Regions from separate parts of the Homo sapiens genome. Here all the other regions are linked to region 1. The links are contacts of gene promoters, found by promoter capture Hi-C in blood cells and fetal thymus (Javierre and others, 2016). All regions are on one chromosome and are shown on one strand. Each heading gives the region's core, a stretch centred on a gene start or on the middle of the fragment in contact. The rest is flanking DNA. Distances are from core to core; before and after follow the strand shown.

Region 1 (3,361 bases), core at 232-2,731:
GTTTCTTAGAGGTGATACACTTACCGTTGAGCACAACTTTACTCTTTAATTATCGTGTACATTCCCATTTCCCTCCAAACACGTCAGTCCCTCTCCACACAGTGTTTACTTCTTTGGTCCTAGGGACAGCAAGAAACATTTTATAATAAAAGAGCACATGCTAATGTGTTTACTAGATATGACACTGCTGTGCAAAACTGTTTTCTTTTATGGCTGCACTGAAAGCATGCTAAGTTTACTGAATTCTTATTAAGTGTCCTAAGTAACAGAAATAGAAACTAGGTCTGGCCTGAAAATACCATTCACTTAAGTTAGAATTTATGTGCGCTCCTCTAGGTCCGCTATTGTAGTATCACTGCAAAACAATAATACTTTATCTCTGCACTTGTCTTTATTGGATTAATATTAAACAGAAAAAAATCCGACTGCACAGGGGAAAAAACCTAAAACCTTAACATGCATGCACATTAACAGTGACTGAAACATGATTAAAGCTAACACATTTAGCAGAAAAATGCAATCCCCAAACAAGCTCTGCGGCCCGCCTACTGAAATGCACCCGCCCGCCACTAAATGAAAATGCGCCTCAAGCTCATACACATCCTTATGTTAAGACAGTATGCACTCGATGTACTACAAATAAATTGTTTTCACGGAAATGATTCCCCGAAAGTTTGCTGCTGAACTCAGGACCCTAAGGACGTTTGCTTAGGGAATCCGTGTCCCTCGAGAACACCTAAGATGGGTATGCGTTTGTGCATTTAAAAATGCCTCAAGGAACTATTGCTGAGGAACAGAAACCATCGCCGGCGCAGAAGCGTTCGCGGACCACTTGGAGATAGATGCCAGTACAGCAATTCTGTTCCAGGAGGCTTCGGCTTAAGAGGGCCGGGGAGGAGGAGAACCCTCGGGAAATAGCAAAAAAAAAAAAAGATTTTTCTTTTTCACTCCAGCGACAGGAAAGCCTTAAAAACATAAGCAGCTCTCATACCCACCCGCCTCACCAGCCGCGCCTCGCAGTTCGACAAAATGCGTCCTAGCCTTCGCCACTCGCGACCTCTACCGCGCAGAGCCAGGCAATGAGGGAAAACAGCCAGCGAGGCCCGCCCTCCGGTGCAAGGCTCGGCATCCGCGGAGGCCCAGGGCCGGCCCCGGTGCGGCGGGCAGAAGCAAGCGCGGCGGCCCGGCCCAGCTCCGGTGGGCGGACGGCGGGACGCGCGAGCCGGCGGGGCCCGAGGCCCGGGTTCCGGGGCCGCCCGCGACTGCGTCTTTGCCGCAGAACAAAAGCGCTCTGCGCCGCGCGCAGGCCCGGACCGCGAGTGCCTCTGGCTCCCGGCTCCCGGCCCCCGCCCCGCCCGGACCCCGGAAGGCGGAGGGACCTCGGGGTGCTCGTCTCACACTTACCGACAAAGGGAAGAGGACCACCCCGGCAAGCGGGGAGAAAACCGGCGGCCTCCCGGGCCCCAGAGTTTAAGTCAAGTGGGGTCCGCCTCCAGGGGCGGGTCGAGGAGCCAGGCCCAGGATCCAGGAACAGCTACGCTCCGCCTCACGCCCGAGGCGGTGGCTGCGAGGGCCGCGCCGCCGCGGTCCTAGTGCCACCAGAGAAGCCGCGGACCCGGCCCGCAGATAACACCCGGGCTTGCAGAGCGCTTTCATCTGCCCGACGCGGAAATCTCCTGCAGCGATCTTCTACCTTCAGCGTGCATCCGCAGCACCCAGAGGGCACGTTAAAGAGAGATTGAGAACCACCAGCAAAACTGCTGATTCAGTAGGTTTGGGGTGGGGCTGAAAAATGTGCATTTCTAACAAGTTCCTGAGACCGACTGTTGCTGCTGGCCTCAGGACCAATTTTTTCTATAAAGCGCATGGAAGTCAGAGTGCACCCAAGAGATTGTTAACCCTTAAAAAACAGAAAAAAAAAAAAGAAATCAACAAGTTAGAGGCAAATAAGTGTGAAAGAAAGTGGATAGTCTATTTGGGGATTCTGAAAGTCCCTGAGGAAAGTTGACTTTGGAGACCAGATCACGAAGCACGACCTCTTAATTGCCGACCTTTTGTTATAGATTAACTCCCTTATTTTCTTGTTCCCAGCTCAGACCAGATGGCATCTGAGATAAAATACGCATTGAATAAGATAAATGACCGCTTGACTATTACATCCTTAATGTGGAATGTTAAATAGACCCTTCCCAAAAAGAAACACTGCCTTGAACCAATCAAATTGCTATGCGTTAACCTTCTATGGAAAATGTTGACATCCTGTTAAGCTTCCCAGACCCTGCCTGTGTAAACGACCCTCAAACTTCTCCCTTTCGAAGCACTGACCCCCATCTTTTGGAGTCTGTGTCCTACCGGGTCGCCATCCTCAAACTTTGCACTCAAATAAACCAATATTTAATCATATTGCCCGAATCTCATTATTAAGGTTTACGTAAGCGTTTACTTAGTAATGAAGGTTGCAACCAGGATGGCAAATCAGAGATTGTGCCACTGGAGAGGGGCAAGGGAGCTTATGTTTATAGGAATTTATTTGTTACATAAATTGTCAGATTAGTTCATTGGTGAATTAAACGAAGAAGTCTTTAGTCATTACTAGAAGAGTGCGTTTGCGTCTGTCAGAAACAAAACAAAAAAACTACATACAGAATATTCTTTCTTTTTTGGGGGGGGGACGGAGTCACGCTCTGTCGCCCAGGCTGGAGTGCAGTGGCACGATCTCGGCTCACTGCAAGCTCCGCCTCCCAGGTTCACGCCATTCTGCTGCCTCAGCCTCCCAAGTAGCTGGGACTACAGGCGCCCGCCACCATGCCCGGCTAATTTTTTGTATTTTAGTAGAGACGGGGTTTCACCATGTTAGCCAGGATGGTCTCGATCTCCTGACCTCTTGATCCGCCCGCCTTAGCCTCCCAAAGTGCTGGGATTACAGGCATGAGCCACCGCGCCCGGCCAGAATATTCTTAAAGATTGGGGGTGGCCAGGTGTGGTGGCTCAGGCCTGTAACCCCAGCACTTTGTGTCACGCGCATCCGTGTGAAGAGACCACCAAACAAGCTTTGCGTGAGCAACAAGACTGTTTATTTCACCTGGGTGCAGGCGGGCTGAGTCCGAAAAGAGAGTCAGCAAAGGGTGGTGGGATTATCTTTAATTCTTATAGGTTTTGGGAGAGGCTCCGCGGAACAATGTTTTGCGGGCAGGGGGTGGATCTCACAAAGTACATTCTCAAGGGTGGGGAGAATTACAAAGAACCTTCTTAAGGGTGGGGGAGATTACAAAGAACCTTCTTAAGGGTGGGGAGAATTACAAAGAACCTTCTTAAGGGTGGGGGAGATTACAAAATACATTGATCTGTTAGGATGGGGCAG
Region 2 (3,361 bases), core at 324-2,823, 790 kb before region 1:
ACTGGCATCAGTGTACGGCTTAGGGATATGGTCACAGTTTTAGAGGGATGCAGAAACAGAGGCCCTATGTAACAGATTAACACAGCCCCTCTCATAGTCTGTATCCTTTTTATATTCGGGGATGGGAAAGGTTACCTAACCTATCTATAGTATTAACTGAATTTCTGAAAATGAAATGAGCATATAATGGCCAAAACCGCAAGTACTTTTGCACTAACCTACTAACGTCATAAGACTATTATTGTAAACTATATAATAATCCCCTTGAGAATTGCATTTTCTATTCAGGAATTGAGTAGAATATTTTAATTAATCAGTTATGAGGTATTAAGGAGTAAATAAGGTTTTTCACAAAAAATAATTCAGCATATAATTGATGCTTATCCATTTTTAAATGAACAGTGAGGTGGAAGGAAAAGTGTTGGGTAGCCAGAAGACCCCCAGGTGCCTCTTTTGCAGGAGTTCACACAGAAGTCAAATGGTTATCGGCCATATCATGGCCATGATTATGAATGACATTTGTTATAGTTGTTCTCTTTCAACTGTCTTGGATTGTTTGCCTGTGTCCTAAAGAGTCCTAGACTATTCTGCCTGGAAAAAGCACCCATTGTCTCCCTTTGCATCACCTGCCACTCCACCTTAGTGATTCCCTCATCTGCTGGTTTAACACACAGTGAATTTGAGGCTGGTGTCATATACTTCCCTGTAGTATGTCAGCGAGACAAATAATTTTCCTCACTATGGAAGCAGATTTCGTTTTCTTCTGAACTTTACTATAGTGTGTTCGCTAATACTGGAAGCTTTACCACTACTAAAAATGACACCACATCTGATTTAGCCAGGGCTCTAAGTAATACTGATTTTTTTTTTTAATATTATATAAGCTAAATAGGTTTGGTGCATTTAAATTAAACATAGAACATGATCTGGAAACTAGCAGACAGCGTAAAATAATACTTCCTAAAAGAAAGGAATCTGGCCTTAAGTAGAAAATATTTTACTGATGAGTTTTATAAAACCATGTCCATGGCCAGGTATGGTGGCTCACATTTGTAATCCCAGCACTTCGGGAGGCTGAGGGCGGGAGGATTGCTTGGGGCCAGGAGTTCAAGATCTGTGTGGGCAAGGACGTAGTGAGACTCCGTCTCTACCCAAAAATAAAGGTATAAAAATATCTTTAAAACCATGTCCAGTAGTGGTTTCTTAATTTTATTTGGTAACATTCAGATGAGAGAAAACCACCATTTTTCTTTCTTAAGGACTTCCAAGATCTAGCCACGCTGTAGCCCTGTCTTCTCAGATCTCACCTCTTTCTAGCTGCTCCCATGTTTCCTGCCCTGATTGTCAAGGTAGCTTCACTCCCAGTTTAAGTATCTCTTTTTTCAGTGAAATGTTCAGCCCTCACCTACCCAGTGTGCTCCTAGAACAACTTCTCCTAGGTCTTTCTTTTTTTTTCTTGAGACGGAGTCTTTAAAAGAGCAGATTGCAAGGCGTAAATTCCGGCCAGACACAGTGGTTCACACCTGTAATCCCAGCACTTTGGGAGGCCAAGGCAGGTGGATCACTTGAGGTTGGGAGTTTGAGACCAGCCTGGCTAACATGGCGAAACCCATCTCTACTAAAAATACAAAATTAGCCAGGTGTGGTGGCATGCACCTGTAATCGCAGCTACTCTGGAGGCTGAGGCAGGAGAATCACTTAGAACACAGGAGGCGGAGGTTGCAGTGAGCTGAGATCATGCCAGCCTGGGCTACAGAGCAAGAATGTGTTTCAAAAACAAACAACAAAAAACAAAGAGCAGTAAAGAGAGGCAGAATCTATTAATAATAGAGCAAACATGAAGGTAACAGTCCAGTGCCAAATGAAATCTTCTCAATTGGAGAGCCTCTGAAATCTAAGTGAAACAGTCTTTTTTGGGGGACAGATCAACAGTGATTGGATCTCTCTACTTACTAAACGTTTCTATTTTTTAGGTATCGAATGATAACAGAAGGCGGAGTCAGCATAAATCACCAACAAGTAACAAATCCTGAGAGTGTTTTAATTGTTGGACAACATATTCTCAAGAATGGACTTTCCTTACTTAAAATAGGAAAAAGAAATTTCTACATTATAAAATGGCTTCAGTTGTGATGAAAAGTCCTTCTGGTTGTCCAAATAAACTTACCCATCATTCATTCTCAAGACCTCTGAAGGGTTGGCTCCAGAACTTAGACCTTTGCTTATGCAAATCAGAAAAACAGAATGGACTAGGACTCAGTGTGAGTAACTTCATTATTTTTATGGGCCGGTTAATAAATATTTGTTTAATAATGGGATGTTTTATTTTCTGATGTACAAAGCTTGATTACCATAGAAAACCATGATTTTCAGGGTTAATCTCTTTTTAAAATTATACTTCAGAAGAGAAAGAAATGCTGCTTTCCTATCTTACCCTTCCTGCTCTCCTTTTTGTAGTGATGAGGAACAATGAAAAAGAGGTAGTGTAAGGAATTGTGAGGCTGGGCATGGTGGCTCACACCTGTAATCCCAGCACTTCGGGAGGCCAAGGTGGGCAAATCGCTTGAGGCCAGGAGTTTGAGACCAGCCTGGCCAACAGGGCGAAACCCCGTCTCTACTGAAAATATAAAAATTAGCCAGATGTGGTTGCAGGCACCTGTAACCCCAGCTACTCAAGAGGCTGAGCTGCGAGAATCACTTGAACCCAGGAGATGGAGGTTGCAGTGAGCTGAGATCACGCCACTGCACTCCAGCCTGGGAGACAGCATGAGTAGTGAGTGAAACTCTGTCTCAAAAAAAAAAAAAAAAAAAAGGAATTGTAGCTGCTTTTCTATCAGGTATGGAGCACCGATGTCACTAATGTTATATAGTTGTTTATAAAATCATCAGGGCCTCTAGTGTCCACATTAGAAATGGGAAAACTAGTATTAGAAACTTTGAATAGAAATTTGATTTTTTTGTAGTTCAGAGAGCAAATGTAGTTCTTAAAAAGGAGAAAAAGTTAGATGAGGCCATGGTTGCTTTGAGAAATTACAGTAAGTAGTTTCTTTACAAATAATAGTACAAAAATCAGTACGTGACTTTTCAGAAAGTTTCTAATTCAGTTTTCTGGTTCCTTGCCTGTGTTCCAGTATAATTCTGTTCACATTAAGCCTTGTTGTCAGTGGATTCCTAAGGTAGCAATGTTTTATAAATTTAGAAACTTAAATTGGTTTTAAGTTTCAGCTTTTCCCCCCAAGCAGATTGCAACTTGAGGTAAATTAAAAAGTTAACCCCCCAAAAATAAAGCCAATTATACCAAATATGCAATCATATGAGAATATCAAAAAGTATCCAGGTAAGGAAAGTTTTCAGGTCAAAC
Region 3 (3,361 bases), core at 440-2,939, 710 kb before region 1:
AACTGAAACCTAGGAACCTGGTTTCTGCCTTGCTTCTCTAGTATATTAGTTCCCTATTGCTGCCTTAACAAATTACCACAATTTTAGTGGCTTAAAACAACAAAAATGTGGCCAGGCGCAATGGCTCACTTCTGTAATCCCAGCACTTTGGGAGGCCGAGGCGGGCGGATCACGAGTTCAGGAGATTGAGACCATCCTGGCTAACATGGTGAAGCCCTGTCTCTAGTAAAAATACAAAAAATTAACCGGGCGTGGTGGCGGGTACCTGTAGTCCCAGCTACCCGGGAGGCCGAGGCAGGAGAATGGCGTGAACCTGGGAGGCAGAGCTTGCAGTGAGCCAAGATCACGCCACTGCACTCCAGCCTGGGCAACACAGTGAGACTCCATGTCAAAAAAAAAAAAAAAGTATTGTTTTACAGTTCTATAGTTCAGTAGTCTCACACAGGTCTCACTGGACTAAAATCAAGGTGTCACCAGGGCTGCAAACCCTCCTAAAGCCTCTAGCAGGGAATTCACCTCCTTGCCTTTGTTAGGGGCCCCCTGCATTCCTTGCTGGTTACCTCCTTCCAACCTCTTCAAAGCCAGCAATGTCGCATCTCTTTAACTCTTCTGCTGTCATCAGGCCTCTGACCCCCAGAAAAGCTTCTCTGTGTTTAAGGGCCCATCATTAGATTGGCCAACCTGGACAACCCAGGATAATATCCCTGTCTCAAGGCCTGTACCCTTAATCACATCTACAGAGTCTCTCCTGAGACATAAAGTTCACAGGCTCCAGGGATTAGGACATGGACTTATTGGAGGGGCCTACTGCACCTGGTTAAGGTGATTGGTCTAGGGATGGACCTGCAGGACCATTTAGAATCCTTCTCTGAGAATTTCCTAACCTGAATTTGAACAAAAATATTTTCTCTCTCTGGTTATAGAACTGTAAGCATGTGAGTCAATGTCTCCAAAGATCATGTTTCCTATCTCATGGAATAAATTGGTTTGCAAGAATAAACTTCTTTATTCACCTTGAAGAACTTCCCCAAATTCAGTAACTTACCCATATATATACATATATATATATATTTTTTTTTTTTTTTGAGACAGAGTCTTGCTCTATCACCCAGGCTGGAGTGCAGTGGTGCAATCTCAGCTCACTGCAAGCTCCGCCTCCTGGGTTCACGCCATTCTCCTACCTCAGCCTCCCGAATAACTGGGACTACAGGCGCCCACCGCCACACCCGGCTAATTTTTTGTATTTTTAGTAGCGATGGGGTTTCACCATGTTAGCCAGGATGGTCTTGATCTCCTGACCTCGTGATCTGCCCGCCTCAGCCTCCCAAAGTGCTGGGATTACAGGCATGAGCCACTGCGCCTGGCCAACTTTCCCATATTTTTAAATGTACATGTGCTGTACAGCACATAACATCAGAATTCTAATCCCCATAGTTAACCATATGAATTTCTCCATTTTTCCTTGTTGCCCTTTTCACACAATATTATTGAACTATTATTTAAGTGCTTATTGTATGTGAGGCACTATACTAAGCATTTTATCAGAGCCTCGTGAAGTAGGTTTAGAGATGTAGAAACGGAGGCTCCAGGGATTGAAGTGAAGTGGTAAATTTACACAGCTAGTATGTGGCAGAGATGGGATGAAAAGGGGCTTTTTGGCAAACCCCCTTTTTTTTCTTTTTTTTGAAACAGTCTTACTCTGTCGCCACAGTGGTGCGATCTCAACTCACTGCAACCTCTGCCTCCCAGGTTCAAGCAATTCTCCTGTCTCAGCCTCCCCAGTAGCTGGAACTACAAGCGCACACCGCCTCGCCAGGCTAATTTTTGTATTTTTAGTAGAGACTGGGTTTCACCATATTGGTCAGGCTGGTCTTAAACTCCTGACCTCAGGTGATCCACCCGCCTCGGACTCCCAAAGTGCTGGGATTACAGGTGTGAGCCACCATGCCCGGCAGCAAACTCTCAACCGCTACACATTCTGCCTCGTGTATTTATTCCTTTCTTCATTAATTCAACACATATTGATGAAGTACTTGTTAGGCATACGGATCTTAGCCAGGCAGTATATTTTGCTGGAGAGTAGGGAGGAACCGTGGATATGGCACTAACATGCCCTCCCCCTTCACCAATAGTGAGCTCACGAAGGGCAGAAGTGATTATCTTATTTAGCTGGGTTCCCCCACTACCTCGTATGAAGCGTGTTACATAATATTAGTCTACTGGATATGGGGTTTTCTTTTCTTTTTTATTTGGAAAATCTGGAATAACAAGGATTTAAGCAGCTCTGAATTGATATAATTGCAACCAGGACTGGCAATCAAATCTCACCAACACATATGAGTCTGGCTTGGCATAGGACTCCTCATTAGAATAGATGCCAAGTTACTTAGCTAGGGAGTAGCCTGGCTTTGTTCTAACTTAAAATCCCGAATTAGAGGAAGTTTATTTTGGATTAAATTAATAACTGGAAATTAATCGATCTTGGAAAAGGTCAGACTGTTTTTATCGCATGTGTCCAATATCATTTTATGCCAACATTTTGATCATCAATCACAGCCAAGATGCCGGTATCTGCACCTTCAAATCATAGCGGTTAGTGGGGATCTAATGTTAATATAAAATATACAGCTCTGTTGGGGAAGCCTCTTTGTCATATTTTGGAAACTGCCCGTGTTTTGCAAAGATGATAAAGTAAACAGCTTTAATCAATTTGCTACTCCCCAGGCCTCAAGCTTAACACATACTTTGTTAGCAGGTGCAGGAAATTGTTTGCAGATGGTGGAATTGGCCAGATGGTTCAGAAGCCAGAAATTGAATCTGGTGAGATACTGACGGGACCATGAGAGGGCAGTGTGACAACACAATTAAGAGCAGTTAACGACAAAATAACTTGGGAGTTAAGATATGGTCCTGATTTCTTCCCTTTGCTCCACACCCACACCCCAATAGAACGTAGCCCTTCTTTTTATCCTCCTACCATCAAAATTTGTGGCATATTTTAGAAACTATTTGAGATAATAGAGTTATTTTATTTATATTTATATATTTATTTTTGAGATCAAGTCTCGCTCTGTAGCCCAGGCTGGAGTGCAGTGGCACAATCTCAGCTCACTGCAACCTCTGCCTCCTGGGTTCAAGGGATTCTCCCACCTCAGCCTCCCAAGTAGCTGGGATTACAATAGGCGTGGGCCACTCGCCAGCTAATTTTTGTATTTTGTTTATTTATTTTTTTGAAAGACAGAGTTTCGCTCTTGTTGCCCAGGCTGGAGTGCAATGGCATGATCTCAGCTCACCGCAACCTCTGCCTCCCGGGTTCAAGTGATTCTCCTGCCTCAGCCTCCCGAGTAGTTGGGATTACAGG
Region 4 (3,361 bases), core at 477-2,976, 660 kb after region 1:
TAGATTTTTGGAAATAATTTCAGTTAATCTCAGGGCTTCCCAAACCTTGAAATGGTTAAACACCAACCACTGCTTAACTTGGTTGTTGTAAACAAAGCCCGAAATGAAACCCCTGTGTATTTGCTGCAGATTCCCAGGTGCCTCTTAAGTGTGAGGATAAGCTCAGAAAAGGCTTAATAGGTTTATTAAGTTGTCATCCATTAAAAGGTTCACATGCTCCTTGTGTGTTGCATAAGGACAGGTGTCTGCCACCTCATTGCATTTCTCACTGAGCATTGCCTAGGAGAGGGTAAGCCCTAGGATTTAGATCCCTCTCAGATGTTCAGGCAGAATAATTTTGTCAGGACAAAAGTAAGGTCACGGAACTATATGAAAATGGATTATGAATCCTAAGACATCAGCCTATTCTCCCCTATGTCTAAGAAGAATATTCCTCAGCTTATGACTGGAATGTCTTGCTAGGGGTGCTGGGTAAGTTTTGTGGAGGTCCCCACCAGCAGAAAAAAATCATTGAAGAGGAACACTTAATTCACAATGGCTGCTGATTAAAAAGAAAGCCTCAATATTCACCTATAACCCTAACATCCTTAACAGCTTAGCAGTGTGGTAACTGGCACAAACTATGGCGTCTTGGTCAAATCCAACCTCAGTGAAGGTAGTTCACATCCTAGAGATGAGCTGAATGCTGATAGCTTTGAGGACTTGTTTATTTGGGGGAAGGGAAAGAGATGGTGAGGGTAGAGATAGGAATCTGTCTGTCGTAATAGGATTTGGTCTGTGTATTAATGGAATGAACTGGCCTTTTTTGCTCTGCTTCTTTTGTCCTTGCTGAGAAGGGAGGCTGAAGTTTCCAAGAGTTATGGATGAAGTTGGAGAGTATTAGAGGAACTGTTCTCTGACCTTCTTGATGGTAATGCAAGCTGTTGGGCGAGTTTGGAGAAGAGCGCAGGGTGGTGTGAGGACGAGGGCCGTATTAACATTTTGCCTTAAAACAGGAATACACAAATTAAAGCAATAACTGCTACTCTGCTTTCTTGTTTCTGCAATCTTCTGTCATTTGACATTGTTTTTTCCAAAGCAACATGCGACCATTTTCTTCAGGATTTTCTTTTCAGTTATCATATGGGTTTGTTGTTGGATTGAGAAAAAAAAATCTGCCTCATTTGAGCAGGCCTCTCTAGATCTTTTCTTATGACTGTGTAGAGGGTACTTCCTCATTTTTCTTCCTCTCAAAGACATCAAATTCCCAAGCATTTAACTAAAATTATTATCAACTAAAAATGTTTTTTTTAAAACAGTTCTTAGAGGTAACTGTTTAGACTTAATTATTGAAATGCATGAAGGCCTTCTGCCTTGCCCCCATCCCACTCTTTTGCCTGCCTCTCTCACCAACAAAAACATGGCAGAGGAACAGTTTATTAACAATAGCCTGTTTGAAAGGGAAGCTTCAGTTTTTAGCTAATTATTTGCTAATAAAAGTTTTAAAAAAATTTTCTTTTAAAAGTTGTAAAACCTCTGTCTATATTTCAAAACCCCTCAATACCAAAAAAATACACATAAAAAGCCTGGATATTTGGTTCTGAATCATTTTCATTAATACTTGCTATATTATACTAACCAGAATTGGAATGGAATGGGATCAGACGAGATAATCCAAAGACAAATACAGCCATATGTCACACAAGGACGTTTCGGTCAACCACAGACTGCATATATGATGGTGGTCCCAAAAGATTATGATACCATATTTTTTTGTACCTTTTCTATATTTAGATGCACAGATTCTTACCATTGTATTACAGTTGCCCACGGCATTCAGTACCGTCACACGCTGTATAAGTTTGTTGCCTTGGAACAGTAGGCTATCCCATATAGCCTAGGGGTGTTGTAGGCTATTGCCATCTTGGTTTATGTGAGGACACTGATGTCTGCACAAGGATGCCCAATGATGCATTTCTCAGAATGTGTCCCCATTGTTAAGCAACACATGACTGTACTGAAGCTTTAGGTTTACTCATCTAAGTTTATTTCTAAAACAACTTTAAAAAGATAGTGTTCTGTGGTAATAACTCCTAAAACTATGGACACGAAAGTGATATTAATAATTTTCTTGGCCGGGCACGGTGGCTCACGCCTGTAATCCCAGCACTTTGGGAGGCCGAGACGGGTGGATCACAAGGTCAGGAGATCGAGACCATCCTGGCTAACATGCTGAAACCCTGTCTCTACTAAAAATACAAAAAGTTAGCCGGGTGTGGTGGCGGGCACCTGTAGTCCCAGCTACTAGGGAGGCTGAGGCAGGAGAATCACTTGAACCTGGGAGGCAGAGCTTGCAGTGAGCCTAGATCGCGCCACCGCACTCCAGCCTGGGTGAAAGAGTGAGACTCTGTCTCCAAAAAAAAAAAAATTTTTTTCTTTTATTGTTGCTTTATGTGATAATTTTGTGATAATTTATAGTTAGACCCTCATACATACACACATCCTCTGACTTGTCCATTGGAGTTTAGTTTCTATATTCATTGCCTTTTCATCACCTCTCTTAGTCCGGTTGTTTTGGTGAGCTGGCCCTTGATTTGGATATTCCAAATTACTTTTCCTAAGGTACAGATTTACTGCCAGCTACATATTTGCATCCAGCCCCAGAGCTGTTTTCATTCCTTCCTTGACGTTGAGATTTTTTTTTTTTTTAACAGGAGGACTGCAATTTATTTCACTCTACGTCTCTGGGACATTTGCCTCCCACTGTTACTACTCTCAGGCACAAAGCCTTGTAGAAGAGGTCCACAAACCTCTAACAACTAAGGGGCAGATCAGCGGTCAGACAACATGAGCTCGTTCTTTTTTTGTCTTAATGATAATAAGGAATTATTATTATTAAATTCTAACCTTGGATTTTTGTGAATTTTACATCTTCCCTTCAGCAGTTTCAATTCAGGGGCAAACTTGACTGCTTAGAACTTCCCATTTATCACAGAAGAAATCCCCTCTGAATTCCCATTAGGCAAAGTAGTATGGGCTGATGCATAGTGAGCTAGTTGTGTGCTTAGTATCAAATAGTATTCATGGTAAATGCTCAAAACTTCCCCAGAGGGGAATCACGTTAATGCAAATGTGCAAAATAAAAAGGTGTGTCTTAAATTTAAGGATGCATCCTTAATTGTGTACAGCTTCATTATTTTACAGGATTGTTTGTGGCATTTCTTACTTCAAAACCTGATTTTAAAAAATGCTTCTCTTCCCCATTTTTAGATTGCATGTTTGTTAGGCGAGTTAGGAGGTAGTAGAGTCCTCCTTAAATAACTAGGCTTTTCTTTGTGTTTTATACGCTTGCCTTGATAGTGCCAAGAATGGAGGTCGATCC
Region 5 (3,361 bases), core at 265-2,764, 640 kb after region 1:
CTGTCTGCAGTTTCCTTCCCATTCTGCTCTGTGTGTATTTAGATCTTACCAGTCTATTTCGTAGTCTCTCCCATGGAGTGTATTTTCTAATTTGTATCTCTCCATCTGTATGTCTTTGAGGAAGTTTATTTAAGCTCTCTGTGCTTTTTTAGATTACTCTTAAGGTGTGTCTTGATAACCAAGGTTATTGGAGAGTGATGCTCTTGGTTAAAAAAAAAAAAGCAGGAGGTAGTAAAGTGAAAGTAAGCTTCTTTTATGCTTGTACTCCTCAGAGGCAACCACTATTTACTATTTTTAAGAACCAATTTAAAAAGAAGTTTGTGTAGTTACAGTCTCATTTTAAAAACATCCTGTGAGATTATACTGTATTACTACTGTTCAACTTGCTTTAAAGGTTGAAACAGCGTGCTGTGGTGTTTCAACCATAATTTAACCAGTCTGAAAATTCGTTGACATTTAAGTCACTTCAACTATCTTGTGTTTTTTTTTTGTTTTTAAAGACTTAGGCCAGTTGATTTTTAGAAAGAAAAAAATGATAATTAGAAGCTAGGGTTTTGGTTTATTGGAAACTTAAGGATAGTTTCATTTGGGAGGTTGTTCCCCTAATTTGTGCATATCAGAATTTCAGTTCCCAAGATGACTTGGACAGTTGTGAAGTTAACTGTTATTTACCACGTTTGACTATTGCTCTCAATTTTCTTCCATCTAGTCCACCCAGTGGTATTACTGAGTTTTGAAAGGTACTTTTGAATATTAAAAAACGCTTTACTTCTGAATATATAAAAAAGCCAGAAGAAGGAATCTAGAAAGTGGAATTGGGGAAGTTAGAGTAAATAATGATGTCCTTCAAAGCATGCATGCCAACTAAGGTGAACTTAACATATGTTAAATTCATCGTAATAAGAACCCTCTCCATATCCTTAAATGTGAGTTAACACCCTTATAAAGATTTAAAAAGACAAGAAAATAGTTGAATTAAATTCATCACCTTTTCTCTGTCTCCTATTCCATATTAAAAAGGGTACTAAAGCTCTAAAATTTGCATTTCAGTATTTTTCATTCTGTTTCCTGGTTGGAGCTTAAAATGAACAAGTATTTAGTATTGCTGAGATTTATAAGAGATAATCTTTAATCTTATTTATCAGAAAACTTTTCTTAAATAGCGTCTTTAATATAAACTATCGCTGTGAAACTCTTTTTCTTTCCTATGTATATTATTATATTCAGTAAACTTATGTGTTTAATTAGATGTAAAATTAGACGTTATTCTTGATCTTTGGCTTCCCAATTTCATTAGATGGGATTAGAATTGTCCCTTTTGTGTCTTTGATATATTGTGGTTATCTCATCCCTTTCTTGACTCATCAGCACCAAGGTTAGATTCATTAAGTTAGATTCATTAAGATCATTAAATTTATATGAAACCCACAGCTTTAAAGTAGAAGAAAACCCTACAAATCAGCCAAAACAGATGTTTAGAATTGATTGTTGTGTTTTAAAACTTTATTTTTTTGTTTATATATATTGTCCATATAATTAGTTATCTTTTTAAATTGCTTTTGCTGACTTAGCTATTACCTTTAATCTTTTTTAACTTTGGGATATTCAGTTTATTTGGTCAGAGCTATAATTATGGCATGGTTTTTTTTTTATTTTTTATTTTTGAGATGAATTTTTGCTCTTGTCCCCAAGGCTGGAGTGCAGTGGCACAATCTCGGCTCACTGCATACTCTGCCTCCCGGGTTCAAGCAATTCTGCTGCCTCAGCCTCCTGAGTAGCTGAGATTTACAGGCGTCTGCCACTACTACGCCTGGCAAATTTTTTTATATTTAGTAGAGACAGGGTTGCGTCATGTTGGTCAGGCTGGTCTCAAACTCCTGACCTCAGGTGATCCACCCACCTTGGCATCCCAAAGTGCTGGGATTATAGGCTTGAGCCACCACGCCCGGCCATGGTTGATTGTTTTTAACTGTTACAGTATTAAAACAATTTTTGGGTTTTTGGCTAATAGTAGTCAAAGAAAGAATGCCAGTGAAAGTGCTTTATAAAATGTAAAGTGCTATACAAATGACAACTTAAAATTTAAGCAACACATTTATTACACCTGTGAAAGCAAATAAAAGAAAAAACTGATCAACACAGTCCTCCTCTAAATTTCTTTCTGGCCCAGGAATGTGTGTATATTGCAAAAACAGCTATGTCAGAGATAAGCGTTACAAACTCCCATAAATAGGCATGTTTTAACTGTAACCTTTCAAATCCTGAGGAACTTCTCAAAATGTTTGTCCTATTTGAAGAAACTTCAGACAGCATACTGTAGACAGATAGATGATGATAGATGGTGTCAGAAGAAAAGATAAAACTGGTCCAAGATGGCTGCAGTTTGGACATATGCATAATTAAACCACTGCCTACAAACTAAAGCTGACCCCTTGGGTTTGTAACTGGAGTTTGTTAAATATTTTACTGACAGATACTGGTTGTAAACTTGTTTATCAGATACAGAACAAAGGCAGGATGGAATCAATCATCCTTCCACCAGACCCTAAGGTGCCTACACAATTATTAACTTTTCTCTTCTACCCACTCAACCACATATTTACTTGACTTTAGGCATAACATCACTGAATATGAACCAAATTCTCAACTATTGCTTCACCATACCGCACATATTTTCCTGTTTAAAAAATATATAAAGACTGTGCCTCATGCAGTCTACTTCAGAGCACAGGTAATAAGCTACTGGAACTTGTGCTTCCTGGGTGCGCATCCTCAAGCTTTGTGTTTGCAAGCAGCACATTCAGATTCAGAACACCTCCTGACTTAGTCAATCTAATGAGAAGGTATTAAAAATTATGGAGAACAAATCCTCTAAATCGACTAAATCCCCTGCAACTGCAGAACATCTGATTCCACCTTTAGAAACCCCAGCTGGGTTAATATACAGTACTTGGGGTGCCTCATTGTGTAATTACTTAAACAAATGGACCAGGATGACTGAAGAATGACTCCACATCACAATGGCCTAAATGCAGATCCTTTGATATATGCAGACCAGGATGGAAGGTGCTAGTGCAAAAATTAAGCAACCAGAATGGGGAAACTACTTCCAGTGGTATCTTGAAAGTAGCAAAAGTGGGTAGGATGATCTTTCTTCCTTATAGAATGCTGATAAACAACTTAGAGGTGTTAACAGATAGCTCTCAAATATACTCTCCTATTAAAAAAAAAAAATCTTCAGAAGTACCTCTCTTTGGGCCTCCTTCACCACCTACACCTTCACTCTATCTTCATCTTTCTTTTTTTTTTGAGACGGAGTCTCGCTCTGTTGCCCAGGCTGGAGTGCAATGGCGCGATCTCG
Region 6 (3,361 bases), core at 315-2,814, 570 kb after region 1:
ATTTGAATCTAGGGATCGCTTGGATTATTTTCCATTTTGCCAGGATGCTTCCCACTTGGCCAAACAGGCCAGAGGCAAGTTCTATGGAGCCCCTGGCAAAGCCAGCCTGCTCTGATGACGTATTTCCTGCCTAGGTGGACACAGTTGATGTCCCATAGTACTTTGGTTTATTTCTCTCCCATGAGAATGCAGCCACTGTTTATTATTTTACAGAACCCAATGCTGGGCAGATACAAGAAGGAATTGGAGAAGCTGTGAACAATATTGTGAAACATTTTCATAAACCTGAAAAAGAGGTATTTATGGGCTATAAAACTTAGTATAGTGGGACTTTTAAAGATGCTTTTATATGTGATACACGAGGCAATATGGGGTGCTTGAATTTTCATTTGTAAGCTTTCTGGTAGCTGTAAAAACATGCTTCATATAGCTACCTTCAGCACTTGCTTCTCTAGTGTTTTTTTTAGACATAGATGCAGGAGATTTTTCTTTGGCACTGTGTGTTATGCCCCACAGAGAGGAAGCCTCACCGTGTTGCTGTGTGGAGAAAATGGCCTGGTTGCAGCCCTTGAGCAAGTTTTCCACCATGGGTTCAAATCTGCCCGCATCTTTCACAAGAATGTCTTCATCTGGGACTTCATAGGTAAATAAAGTAGATGTGTATTACATTAAGGTCACTGAAGCCTTTCTTAGGAACTCAAAGACCCAGGAATCTGAGTGAATAAGGGTTAGTGATAAGGATATATATATTTTTTTTCTTTTTTTTTTTTTGAGACGGAATCTTACTCTGTTGCCCAAGCTGGAGTGCAGTGGTGCGGTCTTGGCTCACTGTAACCTCCGCCTCCCAGGTTCAAATGATTCTCCTGCCTCAGCCTCCCAAGCAGCTGGGACTACAGGTGTGCACCACCATGCCCAACTAATTTTTGTATTTTTAATAGAGAAGGGGTTTCACCATATTGGCCAGGCTGGTCTTGAACTCCTGACCTTGTGATCCACCCGCCTCAGCCTCCCAAAGTGCTGGGATTACAGGAGTGAGCCATCGTGCCCGGCAAGGATATATATATTTTAAAATAAATATTAAATTAGCTGGGTGTGGTAGCACATACCTGTGGTCCCAGCTACCTGGGAGGCTGAGGCAAGAGAATCGCTTGAGCCCAGGAGCCTAGGAGGTGAAGGCTGCAGTCAGCCATGATCAAGCTACTGCACTCCAGCCTGGGCGACAGAGTGAGACCGTGTCTCAAAAAGTGTATATAATAATGATAAATAAATATCAAGTATTGTCTTTGTTTTTCATTTACTCAACAAATTGTAATATGCACAATATTCCAAATAGTATTTGAGTTGCTCAAGATATACATTAGTAAACAAAACAGAAATCCTATGGTTGACAAACTTATACTCAGGTCGGTGTGGGAAACAAACAATACACAAAAACATAACAAATATGTAATTCATATGGTATGTCAGAAATGTGACCATTGATCTGGAAAGAAATAGAGCAGTATAAAAGGAAATAAAGTGGGGAGTGGTCTTTCAAATGGGGTGGTTTTAGATTCTGCTGAATGTCAAGGTACATTGGAGCACAGACTTCATGTAGGTGAGGAAGTGAGCCATGTAGATATCTGGGAGGAGGGACTCCAGGTTGACAGCACTGCCAGTGCTAAGCCCCAAGGCGGAAGTGTTTCCATGGAACTCCAAGCCCAGTGTGACTGGAGCACAGCAAGAGAGAGAAAGTAGGAGATTGGGGGAGGGGGTGTTTAGTGCCAGTGCCAGGTTGTGTAGGGCCTTCTAGGTCATTGGAATGATTTCAGCCTTTATCCTGAATGAAACTGGAAGCTGTTGGAAGGTTTTGAGCTAAGTAGTGACATGATAGAACGTTTTTGTTTGTTTGTTTGAGACAGAGACTCACTCTACTGCCCAGGCTGGAGTGCAGTGGCCCCATCTCAGCTCACTGCAACCTCTGCCTCCTGGGTTCAAGCGGTTCTCCTGCCCCAGCCACTGATTAGCTGGGATTACACCTGCCACCACACCCCTAATTTTTGTATTTTTAGTAGAGATGGGGTTTTGCCATGTTGGCCACGCTGGTCCCAAATTCCGTCCTCAAGTGATCCACTTGCCTTGGCCTCCCAAGGTGCTGGGATTACAGGTGTGAGCCACTGTGCCTGGCCAATTTTTGTAAAAGGATTCCTCTAGCTCTGTGTTGTCCAGTATAGTAACCATTAGCCACATATAGCCATTTAAAATTTAAATCTATTTAATTTTTTTTGTTTGTTTTAGATGGAGTCTCGCTCTGTTGCCCAGGCTGGAGTACAATGGTGTGATCTTGGGTCACCGCAGCCTCTGCCTCCTGGGTTCAAGCAATTCTCCTGCCTCAGCCTGAGTAGCTGGGATTACAGGTGCCTGCCACCACGCCCAGCTAATTTTTGTATTTTTAGTAGAGATGGGGTTTCACCATGCTGGCTAGGCTGGTCTCGAACTCCCGAACTCAGGTGATCTGCCCGCCTTGGCCTCCCAAAGTGCTGGGATTACAGGCGTGAGCCACCATGCCTGGCCAAATCTATTTAATTTAAATCAAATGTAAATGTAAATTTCATTTTCTTAATAACACTGGCCACATTTCAAGTGCTCAGGAGCCACTTGTGGCTACCAAATTGGACCTTGTAGATAGAGAACATTTTCATCATCACAGGAAGCTCTTTTGGAGTGTTTCTGTTCTAGCTTGCTAAGCTTTGTGATCTTTCTTTTGGTATGCAGCTCTTCTAGAATTCCTAGTTTCTTTAAATGGGCAATTAATCATTTTGTGTTTTCTAAATAAGGCCTAGATGAAGTAGTTTATTTCATCTAACTTAGAATAGACAAAAAAAGGAAAGTTGTCAGAGATAGGCCCCCAGGAGTGATTTTTTTTTTTTCTTCTGGAATGCCTAGAATCTTATTGCTTCTGCTTCTCATGTGTATATACATATATCTCTCTTTGTCAGGTACTTATTCAGGTACATTTCAAGGATCTTGTTGCAAAGTGTTAGCAAGTCATTCTGTAACTAGAACATGGGGTATTATTTCAATGGCTACCGTGTCATTGCTGGTTACTCCTAGAAGGTTCCAGTCTTAACAGAAGATGCTATTTTTGTTTTCTTTTTTGCCAGTTTCTGTTTCCTGAAGGTATTTTAAAGGGAGTAAACTTTCCAGTCTTCTGGAATGCAGTCTAAATTAGAAAATAAATTCCTGGGAGCATATTTATTGTTCTACCATGAAACATCGACCCCTAAAATCAATGATAAAGTAATGATATTGGCTTCAGGACTGACTGTATGCAAAGCATCGTTAGTGTTTCCATAATAAATTAAGTGATGAATCTTTCTAT
Region 7 (3,361 bases), core at 217-2,716, 510 kb before region 1:
CTTGTGGAAAAGAATCAGAAGACAGCCAAGAGCCTAGGGGATGGAGATGAGGGCCAAAGAGAGGCACCCAGGTAGTGAACTAGTTCCTCAACAAGGATATAGATCGAGCTAAATGTCAGAAATGCTATGCACCAGTGAAGGTCATGTGCCTCCCAGTCACATCTGCTGCTTTTTTCTGTTTAAATAAGTTTACAATGGCAAGGTTTTTACTATATTCACAGATACATATACCCGCCATCAATTTTAGACCTTTTCATCACACCAAAAATAAATTTGTTTTTAATTTGGAGATAGGGTCTGGCTTTGTCACCCAGGCTGGAGTACAGGGGTGCAATCACGGCTCACCGCAGCCTCAACCTCCTGGGCTCAAGCGATCCTCTTGCCTCAGCCTCCGAGTAGCTGGGACTACAGGCACACGACACCATGCCTGGCAAATTTTTGTATTTTTTGTAGAAATTTCGCCATGTTGTCCAGGCTATTCTCAAACTCCTGGATTCAAGCAATCAACCCACCTTGGCCTCCCAAGGTGCTGGGATTACAGGCATGAGCCACCTCTCCCAACCCAAAAAGAACCGTATACCTTTTAGCTATCACCTTCCCCCATTCCAGCCCTCCCAGCCTAAGCAACGCTAATCTTTCTGTCTATAGATTTGGCTCTTTGGGACATTTCATATACATGGAAGCATACAACACATGGTCTTTTGTGACTGGATTCTTTCACTTAGTACATTTTTAAGATTCATCCATGTTGTAGGTAGGAGTACTTTATTCTTTCGTACAGCCAAAAGAATGCCAGTATACAGGCATATCACTTTTTATTTACCTATTCATCAGCTGGACATTTGAGTTGTTTCCACCTTTTGGCTATTATATTGCAACTATAAACATTCATGTACAAGGTTTTCTGTGGAACTATGGTTTCATTGCTTTTGAGTATATGTCTAGGTACAGAATTGCTGGGTCATATGGCAACTCTATGTTTAACCTTCAAAGAACTACCCAGACTGTTTTCCAAAGCAACTGTACCATTTTACATTTCTACCAGCAGTGTGTCAGGGCTCTGATTTCTCCACAGCCCCGAATACTTTTTGTTTTTTTTTTTTGAGACAGAGTCTCGCACTGTCACCCAGGCTGGAGTGCAGTGGCGCGCTCTCAGCTCACTGCAACCTCTGCCTCCTGGGTTCACGCCGTTCTCCTGCCTCAGCCTCCCGAGTAGCTGGGACTACAGGCGCCCACCACCATGCTCGGCTAAGTTTTTGTATTTTTTAGTAGAGACAGGGTTTCACCATGTTAGCCATGATGGTCTCGATCTCCTGACCTCGTTATCTGCCCGCCTCAGCCTCCCAAAGTGCTGGGATTACAGGCATGAGCCACCGCGCCCGGTCCACAGCTCCTAATATCTTTTTGAAGAGGAATATCTGATGTAATTTTCCTGTCCCTGCCTTACCATTATATGTTGGGGTGGAAAGTGGGGAAGAACGGAAAATAACGTGTGCTTTTAATTCATAGGTCTTCAGTTTGAGATGAGCTGCACCCAGGTGTGTCCGGAATTGGTGGGTTCTTGGTCTGACTTCAAGAATGAAGCCGCAGACCCTCGCGGTGAGTGTTACAGCTCTTAAGGTGGCGCGTCTGGAGTCTGTCCCTTCTGATGTTCAGATGTGTTCGGAGTTTCTTCCTTCTGGTGGGTTCGTGGTCTCGCTGGCTCAGGAGTGAAGCTGCAGACCTTTGCGGTGAGTGTTACAGCTTTTAAGGCGGCGCGTCTGGAGTTGTTCCTTCCCCCCAGTGGGCTCCTGGGCTCGCTGGACTCAGGAGTGAAGCTGCAGATCTTCGCGGTGAGTGTTACAGCTCATAAAAGCAGCATGGACCCAAAAAGTGAGCAGTAGCAAGAGTTATTGCAAAGAGCAAAAGAACAAAACTTCCACAGTGTGGAAGGGGACACGAGCAGGTTGCCAATGCTGGCTCGGGCAGCCTGCTTTTATTCTCTTATCTGGCCCCACCCACATCCTGCTGATTGGTAGAGCCCAGTGGCCTGTTTTGTCAGGGTGCTGATTGGTGCGTTTACAATCCCTGAGCTAGATACAAAGGTTCTCCACGTCCCCAACAGATTAGTTAGATACAGAGTTTGGACACACAGGTTCTCCAAGGCCCCACCAGAGCAGCTAGATACAGAGTGTCGATTGGTGCATTTACAAACCTTGAGCTAAACACAGGGTGCTGATTGGTGTGTTTACAAACCTTGAGCTAGATACAGAGTGCCGATTGGTATATTTACAATCCTTGAGCTACACATAAAGGTTCTCCACGTCCTCACCAGAGCAGCTAGATACAGTGTCGATTGGTGCACTCACAAACCTTGAGCTAAACACGGGATGCTGATTGGTGTATTTACAATCCCTGAGCTAGATATAAAGACTCTCCACGTCCCCACCAGACTCAGGAGCCCAGCTGGCTTCACCTAGTGGATCCCGCACCGGGGCTGCAGGTGGAGCTGCCTGCCAGTCCTGCGCCCCGCACTCGCATTCCTCAGCCCTTGGGTGATCGATGGGACTGGGCGCCGTGGAGCAGGGGGTGGTGCTCGTCCGGGAGGCTTGGGCCACACAGGAGCCCATGGAGTGGGTGGGAGGCTCAGGCATGGCGGGCTGCAGGTCCCGAGCCCTGCCCCGTGGAAAGGCAGCCAAGGCCCAGCGAGAAATTGAGCGCAGCACCGGTGGGCCAGCACTGCTGGGGGACCCAGTACACCCTCCGCAGCCACTGGCCCGGGTGCTAAGTCCCCCATTGCCCGGGGCCAGCAGGGCTGGCTGGCTGCTCCGAGTGCGGGGCCCACCAAGCCCACGCCCACCCGGAACTCCAGCTGGCCCGCAAGCGCCACACGCAGCCCTGGTTCCCGCTCGTGCCTCTCCCTCCACACCTCCCTGCAAGCTGAGGGAGTGGGCTCCGGCCTTGGCCAGCCCAGAAAGGGGCTCCCACAGTGCAGTGGGGGGCTGAAGGGCTCCTCAAATGCCACCAAAGTGGGAGCCCAGGCAGGGGAGGTGCCGAGAGCAAGCGAGGGCTCTGAGGACTGCCAGCACACTGTCACCTCTCACAGGGAGCCTCACCTGGACCTGATGTAGAGGATGAGATCCTAGACCTGTCAAGCTGATGTAGTAATGGAGTGAGTGAGACTTGTATGGGCTGCTCTATCGTGCATGTGTGAAGGGCCAGAGAGCACACTCTGGTCAGTGGTTATTTTGGTGATCATCCCCAATGAACCACATGTCTAGGTGTTTACATTTTTGTTTAGTCACTTCCCACACTGATGTAGGCTGGGCCTATTACTGCCTTGACCATTAACACATGGCAGAAATGATGCTGTGCTGGTTCT

Evidence for each region. Contacts are between HindIII fragments. The CHiCAGO score rates a contact against its expected background, and 5 or more counts as called.
Region 2: a fragment that was not itself captured here is called in contact with the fragment with the promoter of RESF1 in region 1 in 2 of 17 cell types (total CD4 T cells and naive CD8 T cells); the score reaches 7.7 in total CD4 T cells.
Region 3: a contact is called between a fragment that was not itself captured here and the fragment with the promoter of RESF1 in region 1, in 6 of 17 cell types (endothelial precursors, total CD8 T cells, naive CD8 T cells and 3 more). The highest score is 7.9, in endothelial precursors.
Region 4: a contact is called between a fragment that was not itself captured here and the fragment with the promoter of RESF1 in region 1, in 1 of 17 cell types (non-activated CD4 T cells). The highest score is 8.1, in non-activated CD4 T cells.
Region 5: a fragment that was not itself captured here is called in contact with the fragment with the promoter of RESF1 in region 1 in 7 of 17 cell types (total CD4 T cells, non-activated CD4 T cells, activated CD4 T cells and 4 more); the score reaches 9.9 in total CD4 T cells.
Region 6: a contact is called between a fragment that was not itself captured here and the fragment with the promoter of RESF1 in region 1, in 1 of 17 cell types (naive B cells). The highest score is 5.1, in naive B cells.
Region 7: a contact is called between a fragment that was not itself captured here and the fragment with the promoter of RESF1 in region 1, in 1 of 17 cell types (neutrophils). The highest score is 7.7, in neutrophils.

Annotation. Positions count from the first base shown.
Region 1 is chr12:31,957,535-31,960,895 of GRCh38, reverse strand. RESF1 (retroelement silencing factor 1) reads right to left here and starts at 1,481. Exons shown (of 6, transcript NM_018169.4): 1 at 1,405-1,481; 2 at 25-119. LOC105369725 (a long non-coding RNA gene) reads left to right here and starts at 1,592. Exons shown (of 2, transcript XR_931503.2): 1 at 1,592-1,768; 2 at 2,092-2,403. RefSeq lists a silencer at 1,171-1,510 and enhancers at 2,563-3,356, 3,360-3,361. The HindIII fragment of the contact is 2,403 bases long and covers 1-2,269 here.
Region 2 is chr12:32,745,976-32,749,336 of GRCh38, reverse strand. YARS2 (tyrosyl-tRNA synthetase 2) reads left to right here. Exons shown (of 5, transcript NM_001040436.3): 5 at 1,974-2,793. The coding sequence ends at 2,133. Among named protein-coding and RNA genes, the nearest start is that of YARS2, 8.2 kb to the left of the region's middle. The HindIII fragment of the contact is 1,542 bases long and covers 803-2,344 here.
Region 3 is chr12:32,671,579-32,674,939 of GRCh38, reverse strand. No RefSeq gene overlaps it. Among named protein-coding and RNA genes, the nearest start is that of DNM1L, 6.0 kb to the left of the region's middle. RefSeq lists an enhancer at 1-746. The HindIII fragment of the contact is 2,090 bases long and covers 645-2,734 here.
Region 4 is chr12:31,298,367-31,301,727 of GRCh38, reverse strand. The region is part of intron 1 of SINHCAF (SIN3-HDAC complex associated factor); the gene reads left to right. Among named protein-coding and RNA genes, the nearest start is that of FLJ13224, 24 kb to the left of the region's middle. The HindIII fragment of the contact is 557 bases long and covers 1,448-2,004 here.
Region 5 is chr12:31,314,474-31,317,834 of GRCh38, reverse strand. All of the region lies in intron 1 of SINHCAF (SIN3-HDAC complex associated factor), which reads left to right. Among named protein-coding and RNA genes, the nearest start is that of FLJ13224, 8.2 kb to the left of the region's middle. The HindIII fragment of the contact is 2,530 bases long and covers 250-2,779 here.
Region 6 is chr12:31,389,549-31,392,909 of GRCh38, reverse strand. It overlaps DENND5B (DENN domain containing 5B), which reads left to right. Exons shown (of 21, transcript NM_144973.4): 18 at 214-296; 19 at 517-643. Among named protein-coding and RNA genes, the nearest start is that of LINC02387, 22 kb to the right of the region's middle. The HindIII fragment of the contact is 2,331 bases long and covers 399-2,729 here.
Region 7 is chr12:32,471,830-32,475,190 of GRCh38, reverse strand. All of the region lies in intron 1 of FGD4 (FYVE, RhoGEF and PH domain containing 4), which reads right to left. Among named protein-coding and RNA genes, the nearest start is that of FGD4, 74 kb to the right of the region's middle. The HindIII fragment of the contact is 4,250 bases long and covers 1-3,361 here.